Regions from separate parts of the Homo sapiens genome. Here all the other regions are linked to region 4. Evidence: promoter capture Hi-C in 16 types of primary human blood cells and fetal thymus (Javierre and others, 2016). All regions are on one chromosome and are shown on one strand. Each heading gives the region's core, a stretch centred on a gene start or on the middle of the fragment in contact. The rest is flanking DNA. Distances are from core to core; before and after follow the strand shown.

Evidence for each region. The method cuts DNA at HindIII sites, captures the fragments that hold promoters and counts their contacts. A CHiCAGO score of 5 or more calls a contact.
Region 1: a contact is called between the fragment with the promoter of RIC3 here and the fragment with the promoter of STK33 in region 4, in 8 of 17 cell types (naive B cells, total B cells, endothelial precursors and 5 more). The highest score is 8.8, in naive B cells.
Region 2: a fragment that was not itself captured here is called in contact with the fragment with the promoter of STK33 in region 4 in 5 of 17 cell types (total B cells, M0 macrophages, M1 macrophages and 2 more); the score reaches 9.3 in total B cells.
Region 3: a contact is called between a fragment that was not itself captured here and the fragment with the promoter of STK33 in region 4, in 1 of 17 cell types (M0 macrophages). The highest score is 5.8, in M0 macrophages.

The regions. Positions count from the first base shown.
Region 1 is chr11:8,167,741-8,170,459 of GRCh38, forward strand. It overlaps RIC3 (RIC3 acetylcholine receptor chaperone), which reads right to left and starts at 1,285. Exons shown (of 6, transcript NM_001206671.4): 1 at 1,126-1,285. The coding sequence starts at 1,249. It overlaps RIC3-DT (RIC3 divergent transcript), which reads left to right and starts at 1,330. Exons shown (of 5, transcript NR_187234.1): 1 at 1,330-1,449; 2 at 2,145-2,248. The HindIII fragment of the contact is 1,725 bases long and covers 165-1,889 here.
Region 2 is chr11:8,193,983-8,196,682 of GRCh38, forward strand. No RefSeq gene overlaps it. Among named protein-coding and RNA genes, the nearest start is that of RIC3-DT, 26 kb to the left of the region's middle. The HindIII fragment of the contact is 1,022 bases long and covers 836-1,857 here.
Region 3 is chr11:8,264,707-8,267,406 of GRCh38, forward strand. It overlaps a transcript of LMO1 not described here. Among named protein-coding and RNA genes, the nearest start is that of LMO1, 2.2 kb to the left of the region's middle. The HindIII fragment of the contact is 3,262 bases long and covers 1-2,700 here.
Region 4 is chr11:8,592,950-8,595,649 of GRCh38, forward strand. It overlaps STK33 (serine/threonine kinase 33), which reads right to left and starts at 1,279. Exons shown (of 16, transcript NM_001352389.2): 1 at 1,134-1,279. RefSeq lists a silencer at 842-1,101. The HindIII fragment of the contact is 2,062 bases long and covers 1-1,458 here.

The DNA of each region.
Region 1 (2,719 bases), core at 35-2,534, 430 kb before region 4:
AAAAATCTTTGGGATTATTGCAATAAGACAGAAAGGAAAAAAAAAGAACAAATACGCAAAGATGTTTTAGAAGTCCGTCCCAAGTGGATAGTCTTACAAGCATAAAGATTATCAGGCAAATTCTGTAAACAGAATTATGTGTTCAACCTGCCCTCCACCCCTAAAGCTTGGTGCTTTGCATTTATAGTGTGTATGATGCTCAAGAGAATGGAACTACAGTCAATGTGCATAAAGCAGACGGAAGTGGATTACAGTTCAAAAGGAGCTGTCCAGCAATCAACAGTTTAAACATTACTGGAAGTGTTCAGACACCGTAAAATCATGTCTCAAAGATATTACAAGGATAATTTACAGGAGAAAGTTACCAGTAGAACTTCATGACCTATAGAAAACTGTTCTGGTTCCTTCTCCCAGCCTTCAGCACCGTGCCTTTACACTCATTCTGTAAAAGGCCCCAGTGCAGCTAAGAGGATGAATTTTTAAACACCACATACATCATGCCAACAACGAAGAATTAACAGATAAATACTGTTTCAATAAGGGGAACGTAATAATTTGTTCATAACCACCTCAGTAACTGAAACTGGGGTTATTAAAATCTTCAAGATATATTTTTAAAGGCACAAGAAGAGCCTGAAGCAGTGAGCGCCCAGCACCAAGTTGAAAAAACATAACGACTTAAGGTTTGCTGTACCAATTCCATTTGCCTTGATTTCGTACCAAGCGGCGCGTCAGAAAGTACACGGAAAACCTAAAGAGGGAAACCCAACTGGGAACCCTTGACTCAAAGCACGTGAACAAATGGTGACGAGATGAGTTAAGCCAGCGGGGTAAGAGAGAAGGGACTGCGCCTAAACGGGAGTACGCAAGGCCACCTAGAGGATGCACAGACCTGCATGCATACGTTCCTGACCCTTCCAGCAGCAGAACCATCTGGGCCGCCACCCGCTGATAACAACGGAACCGTGGGCATTGGCCCTTCAACGCCGTCTCGCCCGCCCTCTCCAGTCAGTTTGGTGGATATTTCGGTGAAGGCTGCAGACTCTCAGAGTCACCCCTCCCTCAAGCAGCGTTCTCCGTACTCTTCGGCGCCGGGAAGCTCAGAGGGAGCTGGCCTGCTCTTACCTTCAGGTGTCGGCGGCGGCTCCTGCCGCTTCCCGCGGGACAGGAAGGCCTTGGGCAGCAGCAGCGACAGAGCCAGGACAAGCCCAGAAGCCAGAGCGACTCTCTGCACTGTGGAGTACGCCATGACTGCTCACGGTGGTCGCAGGTGCAGACGCCAGCCGGAACCGGAACCGGAACCGGAGCACGGGCTGCCGCTCCCGACCGAACCGCGGGCGGCGCGGACGGCGTCGCGCGAGGGACAAGGTGCGCGAGGCGCACGCATCTTCACCTCCACTGTCGGGAGTTGACCTGCTCCTCCCGCGTGGTTACCCGTCGCTGTAAATGGTACCCTCGCCTTCCCGTTCATACTAACTAAAAACTCCTCCCTCACTCCCCATGTTCATCTTTTACTGAGTCCTGTGCATTCTACCGCCTACACATCCGGCGGTCGTGCCCGGATCTCTATCCCCACTTACCACCACTGCCCCCCACCCACCCGTAGATCACAACATCCAGTTTCTCCTCATCTCCATGATCTCGCTGTCTTCCAGCTTCCACTCATGCCCCTCGCATTCATTATCCGTCTGCAGCCACAGGTGATAATGCTAAAACACAAGACTAATTCTCTTTCTCTCCAGCTTAAACCTTTTAACTCTCCATTATCTTCAGAACAATAGTTAAACTCCTTTCTATAACCTCAACGCCCTGCATGATCTGGTCTTACCAATGCTCCTTCCAAACTGGATGATTTGCTATTTCTTTAGCATATTGCTTGTCTTCAGGGAAGCTTTGCTTGTCCTGTTCCCACTGCCTGGAAAATTCCTGACACCATCTCCAGTTGTCAAAAACTTCTCTGAAGAACAGCTTAAAAACACTGCTCTCTCGAAACGTTTTCAGTCAGCCTCTCCTTTCTCTACAATCCCACCGTTCTTTGTTACTCTCTTCATTCGTTCATTTAACATTATTTTAGTTTTTACTATGTATTAGACCCTCAACTTGGCACTACAGGGTCTGATGAATAAAATGGATTCCCTTTGTAGGACAGATAATTATCCAAACAAAAAAAATGCAGGAAATATTCTGGATCCCCGAGCAGTCTTCTCAACTGGTACGAGGAAAAGTCAAGAAAAGCCCCTTTGAGAAGGTGAAATTGAGTTAGCTGTTGAAAAATGAGTAACTTATAGGCAGACAGGTGGGAGGGGTTAGAAAGGTATTCCGGAAAAAGGAGGCCAAAAAAATAAAGGCAAATCTGGAAGCTTCCTGGTGTGTTCAGAAAGCTATTGGTAATTCATTTTGGCAGGGCCATAGAGTAGTGACAGGACACGAAGTGCACAAATATAAGCAGGAGCTACATTGTGAAAAGCTTAGGTAGAACTTCCAGTTAAACATGACAGATGTAACATATGCATTTATCTTTGCTTTCCTGGGACAGTGCCCAAAAAGGAAAATAAAGAAATAAAGTATATAAACTACAAGACTAAATGCAATGATAGAAAACATGACAGCAGATGAGAAATGTCAATTTTGTAAGACGCACACAACACTGTCCAATAGACACATAATACCAGCCACATATGTAATTTAAATTTTTCCAGTAGCCACATTTAAAAAGTAA
Region 2 (2,700 bases), core at 97-2,596, 400 kb before region 4:
TCGTGGTGGGTGTCCCATATTGATAATTTTCTGGGGGCCTCTGGGGTCACTGGTATCCTGTGGTATCTGGGTTTGGGCTCTGTCATTGGCTCTGAGCTGAGCTCTGGGCTCCAGGCTCTGGGCTTGGGTTGGGTTGGTCCAAAGAGAATGTTGAAGATTATATTATTTAAGGGAATCACAGTGAGTTCAGCTTGTTAAGTACAGGGTTTGGCACACGATCACTGATCAAAACAGAATGAATGAATGCACACTATTTTTCACTGACCGCAGTTTTCCTAATAGACCCTCTCTGCTGGCTGGGGCCCTTTTCAAATAGGAAGGAGACAGGAATTAAGGGTTCCAATTCTTACACTTTCTGCTTTCTGCTTTGGTCAGCCTCTGTGACTTTGGGTCCTCATTTACAAATGAGACAGGGTAATCTCTATAGGGTCTTCCAGCTCTGGGATGACTGGGTCCTAAAGGGAGAGGGTTAGCAAGGCCTGAGAGCAGAGAGATTCCTTCCTGAGGTGGGAGAGAGGACTTCATGGGTGGTGGTGACTCCCCAGATATGAGTATACACTGGGTGTTGGAAGAATCTTGTCCAGAGAGAGAGGCATTGTGGGCTGGATCAGCAGTGACAGTAGGTCTGGGTGTTTGTGCCATAGCTGCTTCCTGATGGCACATTTTCCTTTGCTCTGCAGCCCCACACCCTGCTGACCCTGGCAGTCATTTCCCCTAGGTTTGTCTTACCAAGACCTGGGGCACAGGTGGGGACTGTTGAGAAGAAAGTTCATAGATGGGTAGTGATGGGATTTGCCTGCCTTTGGATCTGTGAGGTCATGGGTCTTGGGAGATAAGCTTCTGGTTAACTTGGGGGTCATTAGTATACAAGGAACAGAGCATCACTGGGGTCAACCCAAGTAAGGGAGACAAATAAGCCAAGAATCTGAGTCTTTCAGAAACCCAGACGGGACCCTAAAAGTGCAGGGTCTCAAGAGTCTAGGTGGAAGCTAGTTCCAGATCCCTGGTGGCTGGAGGACTTCAGTGACAGGACAGGTCCTCATACTCCTCACCGTGGTGCTGTGTCATTAACCCAACTAAGCCATGCCCAGTGTATCTGCTCCTCTGCCAGATATCACCGTTCTTCTCACAACCCTCTGTATTCTCTCTGTGTTTCCAGTTCCTTTTTACTTACGATTTCTCAATTTCAGCTTGCCATAACCTTCCACAGCCCTTCAGCACTCACGCCCCCATACTCTACTGTAAGACCTTTCTAGATGCATCTTTGTTTACCTTCTACTCCTACTACTAACTGACTTTCTCCAATTTTATAATCCAGATTTCCAAAAGCAAGAATATGATTTGCCATCACCTGGTCAGGTACCAAGTTCTTGTCCAGTGAGCTGTGTTGGGGTATAGCATAGTACAGTATTGCTGCCTAGAGAGGGCAAAAGAAGACGCTTTGATGGCATGCAAGGAGGCTGCTTGCAGTTGAGCAAGTTGTGCCATGCACAAGGGTAACTGACTGAGGGGGAAAGTAGGAGCTGTATCCTATCTGCACCACGTGGCAAGTCATGCATCTTTATGTGGGGCTGCATCAACCCAGAAGAAAGGAGAAAGGGGTGCCTTTGTCAGAAGAGAAGTGGCCCTGTGATGTGTCAGATACTATGATTAGCATATAATCTTTTTGTTACATAGGACAATGCATTTCTTATCTCTTCTCCATTTCACCCTGTGTCTGGTAGCTTTTGCTGCATAACAAACCAACCCTCCCTTAAATTAGTGGCTTAAAGTAATAACCATCTATTATTGCTTATGAGTCCAGGGGCTGGCTGGGTGGTTCTGCTAATTTGAGTCTGGTTTCGTTGCTCCAGGCTAAGCTTCTTTACGTGTGTGCCTTCAGCTGGAGGCTCAGCTAGGGGCTGGATGATCTAGGGTGGCATCGCTCACACAGCTGACAGCTCTGCTTCTGGAAGTTGACTGGACGTCACTTGGGGGTACAGGGGTAACAGGGCTACATGTCTGTCATCAATTAGCAAGCTAGCCTGGACTTGGTCACAGGACAGCTCAAGGTTCAAGGAAAGCAAATGGAAGCAGGTAAAGCCTCTTTTGGTGTAGGTTTAGAATTTGAAGTGTCTCTTCTGCCATATTCTTTCAGCCATTCACAAAAACCACCCCAGATTCAAGGGATAGGAAAAAAGACTCTTGATGGGATATGTTTCAAGTCACATTACAGAACGGAAAGTAGAAGAATAACTTACAGCCATTTTTGCAGTCTATCACACACCACCAACTCTGCCATGATGCTCCATCTGCCGGGGAAGAGGTGACCAGAGAGTGGACCTAAGCATAGCCCAAGGGAGCTCATGAGAACAGAAGTTCATGGGGGTACTCCTAAGCCTTGTATACATATCTAATAGTCTTAGATGTGGATTCAACTAGGTGTGGGTTGGGAGAAAGAAAACATGGAGCTTCTTTTTCACTAAGAGCCCCTATCTTTGCTCTTACAATTTATATAACTTGAAATTATCATAGTTGCCAATGCCTTCCTGAAACTTACGCCCCTGAGAACACTTTCTTAGCCATCATGGGTGTAGGGATAGGGATAGGAGGGATATGCAGATGAAGGAATGAGGTTGAGAAACTGGGAAGTCCAGGTTTTGGGTGGGCCAGAGATATCCCCATAGATCTCTCAGCTCCCCTTGCCTATAGGCACAAAGT
Region 3 (2,700 bases), core at 27-2,526, 330 kb before region 4:
CTGCAAGCTCCGGCTCCCAGGTTCCAGCGAATCTTCTGCCTCAGCCTTCCGAGTAGCTGGGATTACAGGCACACACCACCACGCCCAGCTAATTTTTGTATTTTTTAGTAGAGACGGGGTTTTACCATATTGGCCAGGCTGGTCTCGAACTCCTGACCTCGTGATCCACCCACCTCAGCCTCCCACAGTGATGGGATTACAGGCGTGAGCTGCTGCGCCTGGCCGGAAGGCCACCTACTTTTAAATCCCAAGTCTTTTTTCTTTGCCTAGACAGTACAGAGTTCCAAGGTGGGATAGAAATAATGATTTTTCTTCAGCCCAAGGAGGGCTCCAGACAGATGTGTTGGAGGCTTGGTCCTGGCAATCACTTCTGAGGACTAGACCCAGGGAAAGAGAAACGGGCTGAAGGGCCACCAGTTGGGATTCTATCTCATCTCTGCCAATTACCAACAGTGGACCTTAGCAAGTCTCTTTCTCTATCTGGGCCTCAGTTTCCTTGGCTGTGAGGTGGGAGACCTACTCTTCCTGTATCTATGGTTGCTGTGGGGGTCAGATGAGCTAATGCATGTTAATGTGCTTTGTAAACTGTGGCACTCCAGACAATGCAGGGGGATGGGGGGAGATTATCTGGTTTGAAGGAGACCTGGAGGCTAGGTCTTACCCTTTAAGCCCTGGGAGGCCCCAGTGCTTGACAGGGATGGGGAGCAGCGGGCTGCAGCCATATTCCTCTCTGCTAGGCAGGGAAGTCAGGCTTTGAGAAAACAGAAAAGCGCTGCTTCTAATGAGATGCCTCATCTGCAGCTCAGAGGGTTTCACTTTCCCCTTCATCTTGAATACTTAATCCTAATAGTCCTTGAGTATATTTGATGTTAAATATATCATTTTGCTCAGACTCACCAGCCTCAGGACTGCGAGCTTGATCTCTCCCCTGCCACTGCCGCCAGACCCATGCCCTCAGGGTCTGAGGGAGGCTTTGGCACCGCTGCCACCGGCATATTTGGTGCCAGCCCCTCACACCCACCAGAGCTGGGGGCTAGACAGTGTAGCAAGCACAGGGCCTGACAGGCTGGCAAGGGGCAACTTCTTGCCGTAGAAACCTCTGTGCTACTGGAGGCGTTCACTCCATCGGGGCTGCATGCAGCCTTACTACTGACCTCCAGGGGCAGATTCTCCTCACTTTCAGGGGCTGGCCCTGACCCACAAACCAGGACTGGGCTAGCTGTGGCCACTCTTCCACTCTCTTGTCCACGAGTTTGTCTGAATACCAGCTCACCTCAGCCTCCAAGGTACCTAATTGGCAGCCACATGACTGGCATCCCTTTGGGGAGTCAGGGCCCTGTGCCCCAAACCCAGGGACTGGAGCAGGCCTGGGGTGCTGAGCAATGGGCTGCAGAAGCAGGTAGGGCATGCCAGCAGGGGACTGGTGCTGTGTGTGCCCACAGGTGGCTCTTTCTGCACCCCCAGCTGTGAGCATGGTGCTCCCAAACTGATCTGGAGAGGAACCTTCACAGCAAGTCTTGGAGGGTTTGGGTGGCTTGAGCTTCCAGCCAGGAAGGGGCTTGCTGGGTTGACAGAGGCAGATAGAAACATCACTCACCCCATCTGATGGCCTCTCTCCACTCACTGGGCAAGCAAGTAACTCCCACCCCCATACTCGCCCCACCCCCATGCTCACCCCACCCAAGCTGCTTCTAGGTCCAGGGACACGCCCACAGCACCAGAGTGGAATCCTCAGATCCCCTGGGGCTGGGGGAGGTAGTTTTCCCCCAACACATTCCACAGGTGATGAGCATGTACTCTCACTTCGACAAGCCAAGAGTGCTCCAAAATGCCCTCGAAATGCCTCTGGGAATGGCAGGGAGAGGACAACTATCAATCCCCAAGGTTAGTTTAAGGAGAAAGTGGGTGCTACTGGCTGTCTTACAAATATCTGGGCAGGTCCCAGCAATTTGCCCCTCCACCTGGCAGGAAAGTCCCGAGGAAGAGTTCCTGCATTAGGAGTGGGGGTGGGAGATAGTGGGACCCAGGGCCTGAGGGCCCAGGCCGACTAGATATTACAGAAGTCTTTGGTGGAGACTGTCAGATGTGCCTCAGCCAGAGGGCCTGCTCCCAACACAATGCAGCTGCCTCCAAGACGGAGTTACAAGCTAGCCACACAGGTGATGCTCAGAGAGGTATTGGGGTGACGAGGACCCCTTCTCTGTGGCCACCACAGTTGACAGGACAGAGTAAACCTACAGACTTCGCAGTGCAATCAGGATGCCTGCTGGCCATGTTCAGATGCCCTTCCCTTCCCCCTGCTTACACAAAAGCAGCCAATGCACAGGAATTTGCAACCCGCTGGAGTGAAGAAGTGCACAGTCGGCAAACTTTTCCTCTTTTGGTTTCTGGAGAGCCTGGACAGGCCTTCTTGCAAGCAGCAGTTATAGATTGTTAGGCCTTGTGGAGGCCTAAGCCAAATCTGCACCATAGCAAAGAAATCTCCCCTACCCCTGCACCACAGCCCTGAGAAGGTTTTGGGTGTGCACTGACCAACTGTCCAAGTTTGCCTTGTGACTCAAGGGTTTCCTAGGATACAGGATGTTCAGTACTAAAATTGAGATCGTCCTGAGCAAACAAGGACAATTGATCACTATAGTGAGTGGTGGTAGGATGGGTCAAGGGACTAGCTGGGCCAGAGAGGAAGGCCAGGCAGCCAGA
Region 4 (2,700 bases), core at 29-2,528:
TCATGGTAGATTGGTCTAGGGTAATAGTAGCAGAGACAGAGATACTCAAATGGATTTGAGATTTGGTTTGAAGATAAAATGAATAGAACTTGATGATTGTTTGGATATGGAAAGGAAGAAAGTGCGAGGTGTCAAGGATGAGGCCAAGATTTCTGATTTGCAAACTAGAGGTTGGTATGACCCATTGAGATAGCAACAGAGATTTACACGAGCTAAAAATTTAAATGCGCGATATATCTGCATATCCATCACTGTCTAAAGGCACGGGCCTGGAGAACAAGGAAAGAGTTTGGGTTCAAAACTTGTTGATGTTCCTTTCCATTCACAGAGCCCTCTTTCAAGGCAGGACTATCCTATTTTCTGGTTGGATATTGGAGTCATTTGGTGGTCAGGCAAAAAAGAAGGTCCTTCTTAGCTGGTGATATGGGACGGGGAGCACCAGACCACTCTTAGCATGCAAATATCCCTTACTAACGCTCAAGTGCTTTTCACATGTACTGTTCACAAAACAGCTTCACATATAGGTTCACTGAAACCCACGACCTTGTGAGAAATTATAATCTACATTTAGGAAGCTGAGGGAGAGTTCTTAAATTACCTGTCCACAGAGCCAGTACGGGGCTGCTTTATGTCATCCTTTCACCTCCTATGTGCAGCCTCTAGGTGCAAGAGACTATCTTAAGGGCAACAGGAAACCTACCATATAATGGGGTCCCACTAGGTACCAGGCTCTAGCAGTTTAAAAAAAAGAAACACAACTTCAGAACTTCTAAGGATGTTTCCCACACACTTACCCCACAGTAAGTTCGCTTCTAAACTTTCAAAAAGTTTCACGTCCCAAGATGGGGTGAAGGTGAGACGGTGGAGATGAACCGGGGCAGACAGAGACCACCCCAAATACCGGACCCGGGGGAAATGGGGTACCAACGGCTGGGCCCCAGGAGACACTCGGAGGGGTCCGCGGGCTCGGCCCGGTCCCTCCGCTGGGGGGTTACCAGCCGGCCGGCAGCGAGATACCCAGAGGCCCGTTTTTCCACCGCGTTGCCATAGCAACGGCCTGGCCGGCTGCGCCCCGGGCCGCCCGCCCCATCCCGCGGGCCCGCCCTGAGCCAGTGACTCCAGGGACCACTCACCGCGGCCGGCGGACTGGCGGGTCTCCGACAGGTGCGCACACTCGGCGCAGGCTGTCGCTGAGCCCGGAATTCTGCACCGGGAGAAACTTTTCAGCCCGCAGAGCAACCGCAGGGCAGTGGACGGGGGCCGCGCGAGGACAAACAGCGGCGGCGGGTGCAAAGCCCCTTCTCCAAGCCGCGGGGTTGGCCGGGAGGTGCCGGCTGCACAACGGCGCCCACGTGACCCAGGTGCAGCCCCAGGCGCGCCCAAGGGCAGCTCGCCTTAGAGAAGGACCTAAAACCCCGTCTGGGGCACAGAGGAGCAGCCACGTGTTACGTAAAATAAAGCTTTGTAGCAGGAATATCACAGTACTGAGGTGATTGATGCTCAGGCCACTCTTCTCACTCGGAGTCAAGCCCATCAAGCCCCAGCCAGTTGGAGCAAGGGCTGCAAGCCTTGAACTGCAGTGAGTGGGGAGCTGGCCTAAAAAGACGGGAAAATGCTGGGGGGAGGGTGTTTGTCCCCACGCAGGGGCTGAGAAGACTCCTGACAGATCAAATGACGATTCTCAGGGATATGTTTTAGCTACAAACCTATGAGAACCATCTGAATGCCTGCCCCATGCAACAGAGGGTCCAGCTGTATGCTAATGTATTTACTGGCCTGAACTAAGAATGGCTTCTGTGGTCCTGGGTCCTACTCTCTAGCAGTGTGGGGAAGAAATTCAACTCTCCTAATACTAGCCTAATTATTTGAGGCAGATGTTCTCTAAAATTAGCTGATTGATAGCCAGTAACTTGATACGGCAGGTGGATTCATTGTATTGCTTCGGGGGAGGCTACATTTGGCAACTAGTTCATCCAGTCCTTTTCATCAAAAAACTCAAAATGGTCATAATGGGTGACTGGTAACTTCAAACTTCAAACCACTGGACTAGGCCGGGCGCAGTGGCTCACACCGATAATCTCAGCACTTTGGGAGGCCAAGGCAGGAGGATTGCTAGAACCCAGAAGTTCAAGACCAGCCTGGGTAACACTGGGAGGCCCCCATCTCTACAAAATTAAAAACTACCTGGCCACCAAAGGGCTGCAAGAAACCTACCATATAATGACGTCCTACTAGGTACCAGGCTCTAGGAGATTAAAAAAGATCTCCTAGGATAATCTCCCGCATCTTAAGGTCCTTAATCACATCTGTAAAGTGCCCTTTGCATATAAGGTAACATATTCACAGGTTCCAGCCTGGGCGACATAGCCAGCCCTGCCTCTAAAAACAAAAGCAACCACTGGACTGCGTTTTGCCCTGGATTAAACCAGACCACCAAAAAACTGTATGTTTGTACCATTTTGTCTTCACCGTTGGCAACATTGCATGAACCAAGTCATGTTTAGCACTATGCCATTTGCTTATATTAAGAGATGCTGTTTAAAAAAATTCATGATACCTCTGCATTTACTAGAGGGATTACTTTAAGAATGTTGTTTATTACATCTTTGTAGCAGAATCCTACCAGCTTGTCCAGCGCAGAGCTTTTCAAACTTTTTTGAGCACAATCCATCAAAATAAATATGTTTTACATTATCACTC